3 separate regions of the Homo sapiens genome follow, and all the other regions are linked to region 1. The links are contacts of gene promoters, found by promoter capture Hi-C in blood cells and fetal thymus (Javierre and others, 2016). All regions are on one chromosome and are shown on one strand. Each heading gives the region's core, a stretch centred on a gene start or on the middle of the fragment in contact. The rest is flanking DNA. Distances are from core to core; before and after follow the strand shown.

Region 1 (4,094 bases), core at 56-2,555:
TCTGTCACTTACTAGTTAATGTGACTTTGTGTGGGGGTACTTTTGTGATTCTAAGTTTCCTCTTTGGCAAAATAGGAATGGGAATACAGTAGGCCTTTGCTGTCCACTGGTTGCACACAGAGAATTCAACACACGGGATGGAAAATATTCGGGAAAAAACCCCACAGTTGAAAATAACAATACAACAATTAAAAAATAATATGAATAAAAGTACAGTGTAACAACTATTTACATAGCATTTACAGTGTATTAGGTATTGTAAGCAATCTAGAGATGATTTAAAGCATATAGGAGGATGTGTGTAGGTTATATGCAAATACTACACCATTTTATAAAAGAGACTTAAGCATGGGTGGATTTGGGTATCTGCGGGGGTCCTGGAACCAATTACCTAGGGATACCGAGGGCCCACTTTACCTGCCTTGACATCCCTTTCCCAGGGAACGTGAAATGATCAGACCGAGAAAATGCAAATCATTTTCCAAATGTAATTTTGTTGTTGTTCTTACCGCTGCTTATAATTAAAAAAAAAATAATTTGCTCAGCTCGATCACTGTGCACGGTGCAAAAAATCAACTTTGGTACCATTCAGCAAATCATACCCCCACGTCCCGCCTTTATTTTCCTTTTTTGCAGCCCGGTTTCTCTCTTCTGCTCACTCATACCCGCCCACCCCGCTTTTGTAGCTTGCTTGTTCATATCTGAACTTGGGTATCCAAAGACACTGCTTGACTTTGCAGGTACATTTCACAGTTAAAGAGGGTTCGTCATTTAGTAGTCGGGGATGGGGAGAACTGTCACAAAGCAAAAGTCTACATTCTAAATCGTGAAGTTCTGGGAGCTGAGAATCAGATTGGCAGGGCCAAGAACGAATCCGTCGACGAGCCGGGAGGCGGGGCTCCTGCTGGGGCCTCTGCAGCCCGCGCTGGGTTCCCGAATTCCCGCGCTGTAAGCCGGAACCCCAGGCCAGCGGGCGCCGCGGCGGGCCCGGAGATCGGTGCAGGACGCACGGCCTAGCCAGAACTACAACTCCCGACGTGCGCGGCGGCCAACGCTGGTTCTATCCCTGCTTGTTGCTTTTTTTTTTCCCTCCGCTTCTTGCGACGGAGACTGCTGTCCAGGAAGTGCGCAGTAGTGATTCTAGAGAGGCTGGAAGCTCTCCTGGCGACGCTGGGGCCGCGAAGGGCTCACGTAATGACTCCTACTCCTGGTGAGCGCAGGCGTTGCGGAACTCACCGTCCCACAGGACGTGTTTCCGGGGGTACATTAATTGTGGCTGGACGCAGTGGCGCGGCAGTTTAATTCTCCGGCGGCTGCAGATTGACGGGACGAGATGGTCCTGGCAGGGCTCATCAGGAAACTCGGTAACTGTCAGCTTGCCCCTCGCCCAAGGCACCCCCCGCGCTCTGGCCACTTGCTGAGAATGGTCGTGTCACGTTTCCGCGGCCGGCCGCTCCGCGACCGCTCCCTCTTTCACCCCCGCTTTGTCAGGATAGCCCCCGGGGACCCATCTCGGACTTTGTGTAAACTTCGCGGTTCGCGTCCCGAAGGCACCAGTGGCCTGCTTCTGAAAAAAACTGGTTTATTCCGTCTTCACGCCGCTCCTGCCCACAGCATAAATAACGTAGTCTCTTTGCAGTCGGGAAATAAAATAGTTTTGTGCCGTTCGTTGACAGGTCATCAGCTGGCCGAGATCAGGGAGCGCGCTCTCAAGAGTATTCTCTGCAAGATTGAGCACAACTTAATCTGCTACGCTGATCTCATTCAGGAGAGGCAACTTTTTCTTCATTTGCTGGAATGGTTCAATTTCCCGTCCGTTCCGATGAAGGAAGAGGTTCTGAACCTGTTAAGCAGATTGGTTAAGGTAGGGTCATTTTGAAATAAAGAAAATAATCAGACGAGTGACTTGTTTCTTAGTCATTTAATTGTAGCGTTTATTGAAAGTTAAATAATTGGGGTTAAAAGTTTTTTTAATCAACCAGAGATGTTTAATTTTAATTAATCTGGGTATATGGTTCATCTTTTATTTGTGATACTGAATCCCACATGGTCTCTGCTGTGCTCAGAAGTAACACAGAACTTCTTTTGAGTTTTGGTATGTTCTGTGTTTTTGAGTTATCTTTGGAGGTTAATATTTGTATTCTGTTTTTGTTTTCTGACATTTACATCTTAAAAACTAGATATGTCAGTATGAAAGGGAGCACTTTAAAAATAATGTTACATAACCGTGATTCATAAATACCAATGTTAAGTTGCTTGCCCATATGCTTTTAGATTGGTATTCTTATGCCTACCTCAAGAGTAGTTAGTTATCGGGGTCAGATATCAAAGTGTAAGTTTAACCTTTCAAAACTAAATCACTGTACAATGGTAGAGGAATCTTAAACTACTTTGACATCCTGTTGACCGGTTGGGGCTGGGACCATAAGGTGAGTGTCAGTGGAAAAAAGTAACCCATTAAAAAAATAAGAGTAGGGATTGATAATGTGCATTTCTAGCGTTCAGTGTGTTGGCTCATCTTTCATAAATGTTATCAAGTGTTGGATGTATGTCTCTATAGGTGTATGTGCTCCTCATGGAAGTGCCTTACTTCGGGGCAGAGCCATGAAGGATTTGTTTTTCAGAAAAGGAACATCTGATATACCAAAAATAATTTTATGTTTTGATTGCTGTAAGTTATAGAGATTTTGATACAGTTATTCTCAAGATCATCCTCTTCTTATTTTAGTATCCCCCAGCAGTCCAACATTTGGTTGACGTTGGTGCAGTAGAGTTCTTATCTAAGCTTCGGTCTAATGTGGAGCCAAATCTGCAGGCTGAAATTGATGGCATTCTGGATGGACTTTTTCTTCTTCCTTCGGAAGTTCCTGCACTATCTTCTGCCTCATACCAAACCAATCAAACTGGTAACTCTTTGGAATCTGTTAAATACAAATATATTAATTCTAATGGTAAATTTTAAGGAAAGGGAGATTAGATTTTTTTAAAAAGGATTTCTCCCACCTCCCCCAAACTTATTTTTCTTGTGTTAACTTACATGATTTTGACCTTTTTCCCCTCCTCTACTGTTAGTCAAAGGATGGTACATTTGCATTAATTGCTTTTTGGGTCAGGCCTAAACGATGCCAGTGACTTTGCTTTTATGAGGCCAGTTTGACAGATTATTTTTTTGGCAATAACAATGTATTTTTATTGAGCACATGAGTGCTCATTGTTCTTAGTGCTTTATATTTGTATTTTTGACCTTGTTCGTCATATTGGAGTATAATGATATCTGTCCTAGCTCATGATCTTGTTGTGGGGACCAATCAAAACGACATAATGCAAGTATTTTTATATGCTGCAGTCCATCATGATATACTTGTTAAAATCCAAGTCAAAGAGACATGGATTTAAGTCTCAGTTCTGCTGCTAGTTGTGTGACCTTGGCTAAGGTAATTAACCCTTCCAGGCTTCAGTTTTCTCATTCAAAAACTGGGATAATAAGAAAGAACACCGGGCTGGGCATGGTGGCTCACGCCTGTAATCCCGGCACTTTGGGAAGCCGAGGCAGGTGGTCAGAAGTTCAAGACCAGCCTGACCAACATGGTGCCCCGTCACTACTAAAAATACAATACAAAAATTAGCCGGACATAGTGGCGGGCGCCTGTAATCCCAGCTAGTAGGGAGGCTGAGGCAGGAGAATCACTTGAACCCGGGGGGCGGAGGTTGCAACGGTGAGCTGAGATCACTCCATTGCACTCCAGCCTGGGTGACAGAGCAAGACTCCATCTCGAAAAAAAAAAAAGAACACTTTCTCATAGAATCGTCATGAGATTAGATGAGACAATGTCTGTAAAGTGCTTAGCACAGGGCCCAGCATGTATGAAATGTGGCTGTGTTGGCTGCTGTGCTGCTGCTGTTGTGTTGTTGTTAATGCCTAGTATAGTGCCTTGCACATGGAATGCATTTGAATTGATTTGAAGAAAAACATCTTCATGCAATTTATGTGACTGAGTAGTAAAAGTAAAAAAAAAAAAAAAAAGTTTTGATGCTTAACCTGTTAGACCATATTTTCTTCTCTGCCAGTACTGTTACAGCTTCAGCTGTGGGTA
Region 2 (3,946 bases), core at 133-2,632, 81 kb after region 1:
ACATGCATATATAATATTCATCTTGTATTTGGTTTTTAGGCCTGTGTTTGATCATGGCAACACAGACACTACTGCCTAATTTATAAATATTCATGTATTTCTGCTGTATTATGTTTCACTAAGGAATGTATCAAAAATATATATCACAGAATCCACCTTTTTTCATGAAAACTTTTTAAAAACTTTACTTCCAGCAATGTATGTACTAATGAGGCTTTGGGAAACTTTAGTTTTGCTTTCATTCAGTTTAATGATAGAAAGGAACATTATCTTTTTGACTGATTATCTAAGATGAACCAACAGCTTAAAGGGTGCTTGGAGATAGAAGATTCCCATAAATCATGGCTGTATAAAGTATTGAGATATTGAGAACATTTTTATAAGCTTAGTTTAATATTTTTAAAATACAGCTATTTCAAATTATATCATTCTAGACAAAACAAAATATAGAGAAGCATGTTCATACCTGTGTGAATGGTTTTTTATTGTATTTTAAAAATAATGTTATTTTTTACACATTTTCCATGTCAGTAAATATACTTTGAGGCTAATTTTTCAAATATATGATATATCCAAATGAATGTTCCGCAAAAGAGGTCCTTTTAGGAGTGAGTGTGTATGTTAGAATAATTCTGGCTTTGCTCAGATATTTTGAAATTGTCCTCTCAGGTCATTTAAACAGCAGATGTAAGGAAGTCTTATTATATTTTGAAGTTATATTTAATTTTTTACTAAAAAATGATATTAGCAAACTCAACTATCCAGAGAAGGGTAAAAATGATTTTTACATGTATACCGAAATGAACACCACCCTAAACCATGACTATTTATCACTATTAACAAAAGTATATTTCAGTTTGACAAAAAACATGGTTTCTAAAATCTTTTTACTTACGGTACTGTGGCTTCTAAACATAACTTTCCAAGATGATTATTTTAACAGCCCAACATTAATTTATGTGTATGTTTTTATATGTGTATGCTAACACACAAGCATACAATTATAATCTAATATCATTTTGGAAACTTATTTTAAGAAAACAGATGATAGTCATGGTTTAGTAGGATTACAAGTTGTCAGAGGTATCTAGAGTCTTCTTTCAACTAGTTTCTGTTGAGTTTGCATGTTTAATGCCTCTCTACTCCTTTCCTACTGGAAGTCCTATTGCTACTGTTTTTCTCCATTTTTCACCAGACTGTAGACTGACTAGCGAATTGGTTTTTCTGCTTTTAACCTTATGCCACTCATTTATGTTGCTTCCTGAATGATCCTTCTGAAATACATGTCACCTGTGGGTTCTCTTCCATGGTGTGCTAGATATTAATAGAATTCCAACCCCTTAGCATGCTGTAGAAAGTTCTTTTTGATCTAGCTCTTGCTTACCTTTTCAGCTACAGTTTCCTCCTCTCTCTCTAACATATGCTGTGTTTCTATGAAGTGCAAATATTGGGGTTTTATGAAACTGCTTGATATTTTAGGGCATACACTTCTGTTTTATACATCCTTGCTTTTACATAGTTAACTCCTTGGCTGCCTTGTGAATATCTACTCTTCCTTGAGCTCCAGGGTCTTCTTACTCTGTGATGTATGTGGAATTCTAGTTACCCTGATTGTCATGTGGCTTTCCTGCATTACTTCTACAGTTGTTTAAATATTTGTTTTCTCATGTGCCTTGGGTTTATTACATTCCTTTTTATATCCCTCACATATCGCATAAGTCATAGTATACAGTTGGCCATGCAGCCTCAGCGTGAACACCTCCTTTGAAGGATATTCATTCTGTTTTTGCGCTGTGATTATTCGTAAGTTTTTTGTTCTTTTAGACTGTACCTGATCATTTCTACCTGTTATTCTGTCCTTTAAACTCACAGAATAAATAATGTCTTCACATGTGACAGCTCTTCATTTAAACATAACTATAATTTCTTCTCTATTCCCCCCACCCTGCTTTAAATGATTTGTTTTTTTTTTTAGATAGACTTTAAAAGCCACAGTGTCCAGACTTCTCATTTGTTCATGCTATTTTACAAGGGTATTGTGTTTCTTAGGACTCTCCCTGAGATCTGGACATGATACCTTATATGGGTGTGGTGCTGTGGCATGGGGTGAATAGGAAGAAAGGGGCTACTGCCTTTCTTTTCCTACTGCTTTTCCATCATTCAACAAACATTTATTGATCACCTACTAGGTGTCACTCTTGTAGGAAATATAGCAGTGGGCAAAACTGATAGGGTCCTGCTCTCATGGAACTTGGAATTAAGACAGCTAAAAGTATAATCAAAAGTAGAAATGCTTCCAAGCAGACTATTAGGAAACTGCATTAGAGGAGCACCCTATCCCTCTTCAGTAGAGAGAAAGTGGTTCAGAGAATGAAGCTTAAGCCAAGGCATAACAGGTAGAAGGATGTTAAAAGTCTATGGGATTGGAAGCCGAAAAGATACCAGGCACACAGAGAAACAAATACCACATGATCTGTCTTATATATGGAATCTAAAAAAGTCGAATTCAAAGAAGTAGAGTAGAATTGTTACCAGAGGCAAGTGGCAGGTGGATATGGGTAGGGAAAAGGGAGACGTTGCTGAGAGGTTACAAAATTCCAGTTAGACAAGAGGAATGAGTTCTGGTGATCTCTTACAGCATAGTGACTATAGTTAATAATAATATATGTTTCAAAATAGCTAAAAGAATAGATGTTAAATGTTCTCACCACAGAGAAATAAGTATTTGAGGTGATTGGTATGTTAATTAGCCTGATTGGATCATTCCACAATGTATACATGTGTCAGAACACCACATTGTATCCTAAAGATACATACAATTATTATTTGTCAGTTAAAAATAAAACAAATAAATGGAATATAGTTTGGTGCATGTTATGTGACAGAAATTTGATACTTTGAATCCGTAAATGGATGGTCAGTTGACTCACAACCACTTGCAGAATATATTATTTCTCCTCTAGACTAAAATGCCATATTCAACAAATATTATACAAATTAATTTTTTTTTTAAATGCCAGGCAAAGGGATAGGCCCTGAGTTAGGAAAGAGTGTCTTGTGTCTTCAAGAGGAATTGAAAAGAGGATAGTACACTTAGATTTAGGGGATATGAGGGTGGTTATAAAATGGGGTTACAGAGGTGATATTTTAATGTTACACTGGATATCATAGAAGACTTCTTATAATCTTTGTGATTGTTAAATCATAAATCTCCCAAAGATCTATGGTTGTTAGAATCACCTCTCAATTTTCATAATCCGGCACTTGCCATCCTACTCAGCTGAATGTCATTTTGGGGATGTGAGAATTTTAAGTAAGGAAAAATAATAATGAGACAAACACCACATTACTAAGAAATACAGCATTATATATCCCTGGTGTTGGACTGCTTAGTTTAGTATTCCTGTTTTAAAACTTGCTAGCCGTGTGACTGTGGAAAAACGACTTAACCATATTTTTGCTTGGGTCTTCTTGTCTTTGAAATAGAGGTGCCTACTTCATAATGTTGTTATGAAGTTTGACAGAAACCCTGCTGTTAGAACATAGGCTGGCACAAGGTTGGTGCTCCATAAATGCTGAGTATTAAGATTCGTATTATTGTCACTCTTATTAACATTTTGATGCAATGGCTTTAGATTTATAAAAAATAAAACATTACAGATAAAATTGGATCTCATATCTCTTGCTGATTGCTTTTTAAAAAAAACGATTTCCAAACTACTTCTCCCTTTTAAATAAAAGTTTTATTGTCTACTAATCTTTTAGCTCTCTTAAACCAGTTTTTTTTTTTAAAGAAATCTTAGAAAATTGGCTCATATCCTTTTGCTCTGAACTTAAAAAGAAATTTCATCCTAAGTCTACCTTCAGTGTTTTCCTTGCCTGTTACAAACTCTAGTAGCGTCCTTGCAGGCCTTTTTTTCCCCCTCACTTTATTACCTTATTTTTT
Region 3 (3,552 bases), core at 614-3,113, 100 kb before region 1:
ATTATACCAAGTATGTTCTCTGACCACAATGGAAGTAAATTAATGATATATCTACAACAGAAATAAATCTGGAAAAACACCGAATATTTCTAAATGAAACAAAACACTTCTAAATAACCAATGGGCCAAAGACTAAAAAATCACAAGGAAAAGTTAGTAAATATTTTGAACAGAATAAAAACAAAACATACACAAATTTATGGGATGTGGCTAAAGTAGTGCTTAGGAAAAAATGTACAGCTTTAAATGCCTATATCTCAAATCAATAACCTAAGCTTTCACCCTTAAGAAATTAGAAAATAACTAAACCCAATGAAAGTAGAATAAAATAGTAAATGTTAGAGTAGAAATTAATAAAATAGAAAACAGAAAAACAAGAGGGAAAAAACAAATAAAACCAAAAGTGAGTCATTTGAAAAGATAAAAAACAGACAAAGCTTTAGGCTAGACTGACAAAGAAATTAAGAGAGAAGACATAAATTAGCAAAATCAGAAATGAAAGAAAGGCTATCACTATCAAGCCTATGGAAATTTAAAGGACTATATGGGAATACTATAAATCACCTTTTACCAACAAATTAGAAAACTTAAGAGAAAATGGACAAAATCCTAGAAAGACACAAATTACCAAATCTGACTCAAAAGGAAACAGAGAATCTAAATAGACCTATAACGAGTAAGGAATGAATTGATAATTAAAAACCTTCCTATAAAGAAAGGTCAGGCTCGGGTGGCTTCACTGGTAAATTCCACTAAAGATTTAAACAATTAATACAAATCTTCACAAACTCTTTCAGCTAACAGAGAAGAAAGGAACACTTCACAAGCCATTCTGTGAGGCCAGTATTACCCTGATAACAAAGGCAAAGACATCACAAGAAAACTACAAATCAATATCCATCATGAACACTGATAGAAAAATTCTTTATTATTTTTAGAGACAGGGTCTCATTCTGTTGCCCAGGCTGGAGTGCAGTGATGCAATCATGGCTCGCTGCAACCTCCATCTTCAGGCTCAAGTGATCCTCCCATCATGGCCTCCCAAATAGCTGGGACTACAGGCACGCACCAGCACACCCGGCTAATTTTTTTATTTTTTGTAAAGCTGGGGTCTCCCTATGTTGCCCAAGCTTGTCTAGAACTCCTGGGCTCAAAGAGTCCTCCTGCCTAGACCTCCCAAAGTGTTGGGATTACAGGCGTAAGCCACCATGCTTGGCCAAAACTTCTTAACAAAACATCAGCAAACTGAATTCAGCAACATATAAAAAGCATTATATACCTTGACCAAATGAGATTTATCCAGGTTGGTTTAACATCAATAACCAATTGATGCACTACAGCATACTAATAAAGATGGAAAAAAACACACATGATCATCTTAATAGTTGCAGAAAGGCATTGACAACACCTATTGATAAAAACTTTTTATAAGCTAAGAACAGAAGGAAACTTGCTCAAACTAATTAAGGGCAACTATGAAAAACCTACAGCTAACATCATACTTAATGCTGAAGGGCTGAATGCTTTGCCACTAAGACTGGGGGCAAGACAAGGACATTTGCGCTCACCCCCTCTACTCAACACTGTACTGAAGGTTTGAGCCAGTGGAACAAGAAAAAAAATGCATACAAATTGGAAAGGAAGAAATAAAACCATCTTTATTCATAATTGACACAATCTTAGTTTTTGGCTTTCTTTCTTTTTTTTTTTTTTTTTTTTTTGAGATGGAGTCTCTGTCACCAGGCTGGAGTGCAATGGCACGATCTCAGCTCACTGCAATCTCCGCCTCCCAGGTTCAAGAGATTCTCCTGCCTCAGCTCCCAGTAGCCTCCCCAGTAGCCTCCCCAGTAGCGTGCGCCACCACACCCAGCTAATTTTTTGTATTCTTAGTAGAGACAGGGTTTCACCATGTTGGCCAGGATGGTCTTGATCTCCTGACCTCGTGATCCACCCACTTCGGCTGCTTTTTTGTGACAGGATGTCACTCTGTCACCAGGCTGGGGTGCAGTGGCATGATCACAGCTCACTGCAGCCTCGACCTCCTGAGCTCAACCAATCTTCTTGCCTCAGCCTTCCAAGGAGCTTGGACTACAGATGCATGCCACCACACTTAGCTAACTTTTAATAGAGACAGGGTCTCCCTATGTTTCCCAGGCTGGTCTTAAACTCCTAGGCTCAAGCGATCCTCCAGCCTTGGCCTCCCAAAGTGCTGAGATTATAGGCATAAGCCCCCACGCCTGGCCAGCTGACAAAATCTTATACGTAGAAAAACCCAAGGAACTCACACAACACACACACACACCCCCACACACCCACCCTACAAGCCTACAAACCTAGCAACAATAAAACGACTAGCACACCAAAAGTGAATTAAGAAAACAATTCTGTTCACAAAATATAAAATGACTGAGGAATAAATTTAACACATGTAGTACAAGATTCATACAGTCAAAACTACAAAACACTGCTAAGAGAATATAGAGATTCTAAATAATTAGAGATTCCATGTTTTTGAACTGGAAGATTCAATATTATTAATATGGCAATTCTTCCAAAATTGATCTATAGATTCAAACAATCCCTATCAAAAGCTTAGTAAGCTCTTTTTTATATTAATTGATACAATATTCCTAAAATTTATATTGAAATGCAATTTTGAAAAAGAACAAAGTTACACTATCCAATTTCGAAAGTGCTTATAAAACTATAGGAATCAAGACAGTGTGCTGCTGACACAGAGACTGGCATACACATCACAGAATAAAGGAGTCTGGAAATAAATCCTTACATTTATAGTCGACTGATTTTCAAGAAACGTCCCAAGACGAGTCAATGAGGAAAGTCTTCTTGACAAATGGTGCTGGGACAAATGAATAACTAAAAACAAAAATGTAAACCCTTACTTCACACCATAGGTAAGAATTAAGTCAAAATGGGTCATATACCTAAATGTATGAACTAAAACTATAAAACTTTTTTTTTTTTCTTTTTGAGACGGCGTCTTGCTCTGTTGCTCAGGTTGGAGTGCAGTGGCGCGATCTCGGCTCACTGCAACCTCCCACCTCCCGGCTTCAAACAATTCTCCTGCGTCGGCCTCCCCAATAGCTGGGATTACAGGTGCATGCCACCATGCCCGGCAAATTTTTGTATTTTCTTAGTAGAGACTGGGTTTCACCATGTTGGCCAGACTGGTCTCGAACTCCTGACCTTCAGATCCGCCCACCTCGGCATCCCAAAGTGCTGGGATTACAGGCGTGAGCCACCGCGCTCGGCCATGAAACTATAAAACTTCTTTAAAAAAACTTTGTGACTCTAGTTTGGACAAAGAGTTCCTGGACACAATACCAAAAGCACAATATATAAGAGAAAAACTCTGCTAAGTTAAACATCATTAAAATTTAATAACTAAAATTTAAAAGTGTTTGTGTTTCAAAACAAACCATTAAAAGAAAGATAAGCCACAGGCTAGAAGAAAATATCTGTGTATCATATCTTCTAAGCCACAGGCTAGAATATCTGTGTATCGTAACTGACAAGAGATGATACCAAGAT

The links. Contacts are between HindIII fragments. The CHiCAGO score rates a contact against its expected background, and 5 or more counts as called.
Region 2: a contact is called between a fragment that was not itself captured here and the fragment with the promoter of RTTN in region 1, in 1 of 17 cell types (total B cells). The highest score is 5.2, in total B cells.
Region 3: a contact is called between a fragment that was not itself captured here and the fragment with the promoter of RTTN in region 1, in 3 of 17 cell types (monocytes, M0 macrophages and M1 macrophages). The highest score is 13.0, in monocytes.

The regions. Positions count from the first base shown.
Region 1 is chr18:70,202,898-70,206,991 of GRCh38, reverse strand. It overlaps RTTN (rotatin), which reads left to right and starts at 1,305. Exons shown (of 49, transcript NM_173630.4): 1 at 1,305-1,364; 2 at 1,677-1,864; 3 at 2,729-2,906. The coding sequence starts at 1,334. It overlaps LOC105372180 (a long non-coding RNA gene), which reads right to left and starts at 1,203. Exons shown (of 3, transcript XR_935599.3): 1 at 418-1,203. RefSeq lists enhancers at 906-1,145, 608-1,237, 1,156-1,265, 1,476-1,605. The HindIII fragment of the contact is 5,232 bases long and covers 1-2,787 here.
Region 2 is chr18:70,122,102-70,126,047 of GRCh38, reverse strand. The region is part of intron 25 of RTTN (rotatin); the gene reads left to right. Among named protein-coding and RNA genes, the nearest start is that of RTTN, 82 kb to the left of the region's middle. The HindIII fragment of the contact is 1,992 bases long and covers 387-2,378 here.
Region 3 is chr18:70,304,647-70,308,198 of GRCh38, reverse strand. All of the region lies in intron 1 of SOCS6 (suppressor of cytokine signaling 6), which reads right to left. Among named protein-coding and RNA genes, the nearest start is that of SOCS6, 17 kb to the right of the region's middle. The HindIII fragment of the contact is 1,461 bases long and covers 1,133-2,593 here.